Linked DNA regions of Homo sapiens: region 2 is linked to region 1. The links are contacts of gene promoters, found by promoter capture Hi-C in human tissues and cell types (Jung and others, 2019). All regions are on one chromosome and are shown on one strand. The core of a region is centred on a gene start or on the middle of the fragment in contact, and the rest is flanking DNA. Distances in the headings are between cores, read along the strand shown. Region 1 holds the start of TMEM45B (transmembrane protein 45B). Region 2 overlaps ARHGAP32 (Rho GTPase activating protein 32).

The links. The method cuts DNA at HindIII sites, captures the fragments that hold promoters and counts their contacts. A contact is called where the count stands out against the background at its distance.
Region 2: a fragment that was not itself captured here is called in contact with the fragment with the promoter of TMEM45B in region 1 in 1 of the 25 tissues and cell types used here (stomach).

Annotation. Positions count from the first base shown.
Region 1 is chr11:129,814,486-129,817,389 of GRCh38, forward strand. TMEM45B (transmembrane protein 45B) reads left to right here and starts at 1,363. Exons shown (of 6, transcript NM_138788.5): 1 at 1,363-1,413. It overlaps LOC124902793 (a long non-coding RNA gene), which reads right to left and starts at 202. Exons shown (of 2, transcript XR_007062952.1): 1 at 1-202. The HindIII fragment of the contact is 7,942 bases long and covers 1-2,880 here.
Region 2 is chr11:129,040,643-129,043,461 of GRCh38, forward strand. It overlaps ARHGAP32 (Rho GTPase activating protein 32), which reads right to left. Exons shown (of 23, transcript NM_001378024.1): 11 at 286-367. Among named protein-coding and RNA genes, the nearest start is that of TP53AIP1, 99 kb to the left of the region's middle. The HindIII fragment of the contact is 3,799 bases long and covers 1-2,819 here.

The DNA of each region.
Region 1 (2,904 bases), core at 113-2,612:
CTTAAAGGTGGCGGCTCCAGAGTTGTTTCTTGTGGTGGCTTCCTGGTCTCGCTGGTTTACAGGAGTGAACCTGCAGACCTTCACTGTGAGTGTTAAAGCTCATAAAGGTAGTGTGGACCTAAAAGGTGAGCAACAGCAAAATTTATTGCAAAGAGCGAAACAACAAAACCCCAACACCATCGAAGGGGACCCAAACGCAGCTGCCGCTGGCTCGGATGGCCAGCTTTTATTCCCTCATTGGCCCCGCCCACATCCTCCTGATTGGTCCTGCCCACATCCTCCTGATTGGTCCATTTTACAGAGCGCTGATTGGTCCATTTTACAGAGTGCTGATTGGTCCATTTTACAGAGTGCTGATTGGTCCGTTTTTACAGAGTGCTGATTGATGTGTTTACAAACCTTTAGCTAGACATAGAGCATTGATTGGTGCATTTACAATCCTTTGGCTAGAGAGAAAAGTTCTCCAAGTCCCCACCAATTAGCTGGACACAGAGCACTGATTGGTGCATTTTTACAGAGTGCTGATTGGTGTGTTTACAAACCTTTAGCTAGACACAGAGTGCAGATTGATGCTTTTACAATCCTTTAGCTAGACAGAAAAGTTCTCCAAGTCCCCATCCGACCCAGAAGCCCAGCGGGTTTCACCTCTCAGTAGCTTACAGAAGAGGACCCTGCTGCCACAGCACAATACCACAAAGAAAGTCATGCTCTCCTCAGCAGGTAGCCCCCTTCTCCGGGACAGGAACTTTGTTTCCTTCTTAGCTCTATCGCCAGCACCTAGAACAGTGCCCACCTGTCAGATCTGTTATCAGATGGGAACATGGCAGATTTGTTGAATGAATGAAGGAATGAATGAACTATGTGACACTCAAACTTAGCCACCAAACTTAAACTAAAAAAACTGGGTTGTGGTCCCTGATGGACCGTTGGCACCTTCTTCCTTTGCTGGACGGTGATCCGTGGCTGTTTCTGCGGTGTGTTCGCAGTGGTTGCCTGGCTTGGTAACAAACACTCTTCGGAGCCACAGCCTGTTCTCAGGGTCCTCGCCGCCTCCCAGGCCCTGCGATCTCTTTGCATCTCAGGAGGTCCAGGTTGGTTGCAGTCCTCTTGGGTGACTCAGGAACCAGCCTCTCCTGAAGCACACAGCTTAGGGAGTTCCTGAGGCCAGAGACATCTCCACGGGAAAGTCAAAGGCCTGGAGGAAGTGCGGACCTGACGACAGATGCCCCGCACGCTGGCCGGGACCGGGAAGGGCGGTCAAGGGTGGAAAGGGGCTGGCGGCTGCCAGGCCTGGCGGAGTGGAGCGGGGCGGGGCGCAGCGGGGCGGGGCGGGCCTGGAGCTGCACCTGCTTCTGGGCGGACGCACTTGGCGCGCGGCGCGGGCTGCAGACGGCTGCGAGGCGCTGGGCACAGGTCAGACGTCCGTACCCGCAGGGGGCTCGAACCTGGAGGAGGGCTCGAAGGGAGAGGGGGCCCCGCCAAGGAGCGGGGCTGTGATGGAGAGGAGGTTCCGACTCGCAGGGGACCTGCGGGGGAGGGGACGCGGACAGGGAGGGGCTCTGGGACAGGGGTGAAGGCTGCGCTAGGGGAGGACGGGAGGGGATGGAGGGCCCTGGTGTCGCGGAAGCCCAGCTGGGGCCCCCTCCGGGCTGCGGAACCGGTGCGCACACTACTCCCACCGCCCCCGAGTGCCTCTGTCCGGCTGGCCGCGGCCCTGGAACGAATATTGCTCAGTCCCCCGCGAGTCAGGTCTGCCGCGTTGCCCGGTGAGGGGAAGGTGTGAAGCCCCGGGCCTCCGTCTGCCCGGTGAGTCCGGGGACGCGCGCCCCCGGGGATGCCATCTGGCTCCTGGGCTGTGACCAGTCACAGCTCACATAGCTCTGGGCACTGGTACCGACTGCCTTTCCTTGTTAGCTGCGATACACAAATACACGAGCCAGATCCTTTCCTGAGGCCAGGAAGCCTGGAATCTAATAACACCGGGCGGTGGATAAAGTCCCCCGAGCCAGTGCTTAGCTTCCGTTAATGGAGCCATGGATGGAAGCGGATGTCAGGCGCAGTGGGGGAGAAATTTGCGGGGGTGGCCCTGTCTAGGGCCAGAGAAACAACCTCTGAAGCTTTGATCCAGCCCTAGAGGGAAGAAAGATGTGAGTTTCAGCCAGGGAAACGTAGCACTTTAAGAAATAGAAACCCTTTCAAAATTTGAGGGCAGGTAGCTCTCCTAAAAGTTGCAGAAATGGCCACTTCTTTTTTTTTTTTTTTTTTTTTTTGAGACGGAGTCTCGCTCTGTCGCCCAGGCTGGAGTGCAGTGGCGCAATCTCGGATCACTGCAAGCTCCACCTCCCGGGTTCACACCATTCTCCTGCCTCAGCCTCCCGAGTAGCTAGGACTACTGGCGCCCGCCACCACGCCCGGCTAATTTTTTGTATTTTTTTTTTTTTTGGTAGAGACGGGGTTTCACCGTGTTAGCCAGGATGGTCTCGATCTCCTGACCTCATGATCCACCCGCCTCAGCCTCCCAAAGTGCTGGGATTACAGGCGTGAACCACCGCGCCCAGCTAGAAATGGCCACTTCTTTCACGTTCTCTTCGACCGCTTTCTGCGGTGTCTGCCCTTTTCCTCCTCCTGCACCTTTTTGTCTCCTAGGGTCGCATAGCCTTCCAAACAGGCCTGCCTACAGCATTTTACCTGCAATTTTACACTCATTTTAATAGAAAGGATGGCTTATTGTTCATGAGAGACGTGTACTGTTTTTAACCAGATGTGTAATATCTTCAGTATAACCTGGATGTTGTGCAGTGGGAAGTTATGGAAAGAATCAGGACACGTGGTTAGGTAGGGGCCCAGGGGCGTCAGACTTAGCTCTTTGTGACAGTGAGCTTCTTGGTTTAATAAGGATATTGG
Region 2 (2,819 bases), core at 54-2,553, 770 kb before region 1:
TTTTATTCATTAAGTTACAATGCTATTATGCAACTATAAAAGTAAATAATGACAAAGCTTAATGGAGCAATTGCCTAAAAATTTGAGTGCATGTAAACCTTTTCAAAATGATCAACAGAGATATAAGAATACATTTAAAAATCAAAACCATATAAAATTAAGAATGTTAATTATTATGCCTATAAATGCAAAACTAGCAAAACAAGCTAAATACTTGACTGACAGAAAATCTGTGTCTTCAAGCAGTTGATAAAATAACTACACTAGTGAAAAAAGTGTACTCACCTGGTTTTGGCACTGAGTTGGTCACTGACTGGGGAACTTTTTGGTTAATTAACTCAACACAGTGTCCAGGGAAGAGTCCCACCTGATGAAAAGCAACAAAGAAAGGATTCTAAACCAGCAAACAGACCAATTATGTGAACACTGCCAACTGAATTCCAGTAATGTATTCTACAGTCCCTCCCAAATGATTCTATTATTCCAAGACTCTAAATAACAGATGATGCCAATTACACAAACAAATAATAAAACAATCTGTTGCTATGAGTACATAAAGTTATCTGTTTTATTTGTCCAAATATCTAAGTCTGCTTTTTTCCTTTTAGTTTTTAATTTCCCAATCTTTTTTTACATGAATTAAAATATTTAGTCTGACAATGAGCTATGCATGCAAGTAGGTAAAATTTTATAATTTAATAATGCGCTTTACTGAAATCTCAATCCAGTTATGTTGATACCTCTGTTGCCAACTTATGTTTATTGACTTCTCTATGGGTTTTTTAAATCAACACTAAGCCACAACTCAAACTTTTTGTGAATTTTCTCTTCACTCTCTCCCAGGTTTCATAAAAAAAAAAAAAAAAAGACATGACTAAAATAAATGTGTAAAATAATCTCTCATTTAAAATCCTGGTATTCACTGCTTTTAAAAACTAGTAGCGCATGGAAAAGAGGGAAAGTAAGAGAGAAGAAAACAGCCAATCTCAGCAGTGTCAACAGACTCTGGCTTTGAGGAACACACCACAGTGACCTAGTAGCAGAACCGCAGGCATTGCTTTTGGCATTGTAACAAGCCGTATTAGGAAAATGCTGAGTTCCAGATCATCCAGAGATACTGTATAGCCAAAAGGATAAATACCGAGATAAACAGCCTGGAAACAAAAGCAAAGAGGAAATCTTTATCAATATTTATAGATGTTTCCTTAGATAAAAATATAAATGGGCTGCCATGCAGCAGATGTTAAAGCTGAAATATGAAAGCTCCATCACTTTGTGTATCCCTCTGTTGACAGACTCTGGGGAAGAATGGAATAGTTTTCCAAGGGTATGATTCATCACCAAGTTCTGAGCTGTATAATTTCCATCTGTGTGAAATTATTTTCACATACTCATTTGCTACATTCTTATTTCAATTTCTAGATCCATATTCTATGGTAGTTGTTAAAATTGTGAAGATATAAACCAGTTATCATGAGCTGAAAAGGGGTATTAACAGATTATCAGTTTTTTTGTTTTTTGTTTTTGAGACAGGGTCTCATTCTGTCACCCAGGCTGGAGTGCAGTGGCACAATCTAGGCTCACTGCAGCCTCGATCCCCCAGGCTCAAACAATTCTCGCACCTCAGCCTCCTGAGTAGCTGCGACTCTGGGCATGCACCACCTCACCTGGCTAATTTTGTTTATTTTGTGTAGAGATGAGGTATCATTATCAGACTATCAGTTTTGTTCACAAGATGTGAATTTGGGATTCCTATGCACTGCCTTCCAAAATGATGCTTTAGGTATTTGTTTTACTGGTGAAATTCTTTAATATATTCTACTCAACTTCCTATTTTACGGAACAAGTAGAAATGCTTCCAAGACTGATTAGAACCAGGTAAGAGTCAACTTAAAAAAATCTTCATTTTTTTTTCTTACACAAGTCAGTTATGAGAGGGGATATGGGACATGGTTAACAGCGTAGCCTCAAGTAAGTGTTCCACCCTCCATAAAAGGGTTTGGAAAGCGATTATAAAAGTCTCAGGTCGTAAATTAAACAAATGTATACAAAAATGCATTTGTAAATAATCTTTGTTTTTACAAGTCTTTGCAATAAACTGTCAGTTTGGTCTCCAGCAGAGAGAGCTGGAGGAGTGGAGCTTCCAGATGTAGTCTCCGGTGTGAGTCCCAGCAATGGAGACCTTGATGCTATGAGCTCTGGAGACTCTCATGAAGAGGACTTGGGGGGATGAAGAAGTGACTGGGAAACTGCTCATGCCGAGGAGATGGGAGGTGCCCTGGAAATAGCTGCTTCAGGATCTTAAGCCATGACGGATAGAATGTTAAAAGTCATTCCACAAAGTGGTGTGTTTCAATGCAAAGGCTAGAGAACTGTAAAAAGGTGGTTACCAAGGCTGGGAAGATACAACTATTTCAAGAGTGACTCTGAAAAAGATCCTGATGCCTTGAGGTACCCTTCTGAAATTCAAGTAACAATGTACAAATATCTGCCTTGTTTCAGAATTTATGGAGTATACAATTCATGTTTCTAAAAGAGCCTACCTGCAGCTGGTTTCCACATCTGAAATTATAGTGCTCTCCAAGTCACATAGCTGGAAATTAAATGTTCAAGTTCTACCTTGGCCCCAATTTGATGTTTGGTGCTCTCTGGATTGAGTTGAATTATGTTCAAGCTTTGCAATTTCACTTGTGGTAAAGGCTCTAACATTTTCTCTTTCTATGCAAATTTCTTTTTTTCTTTTTTTTTTTTTTTTTTTTGCGCAACGGAGGTTCGTTCTTGTTGCCCAGTCTGAAGTGCAACGACGCGACCTCGGCTCA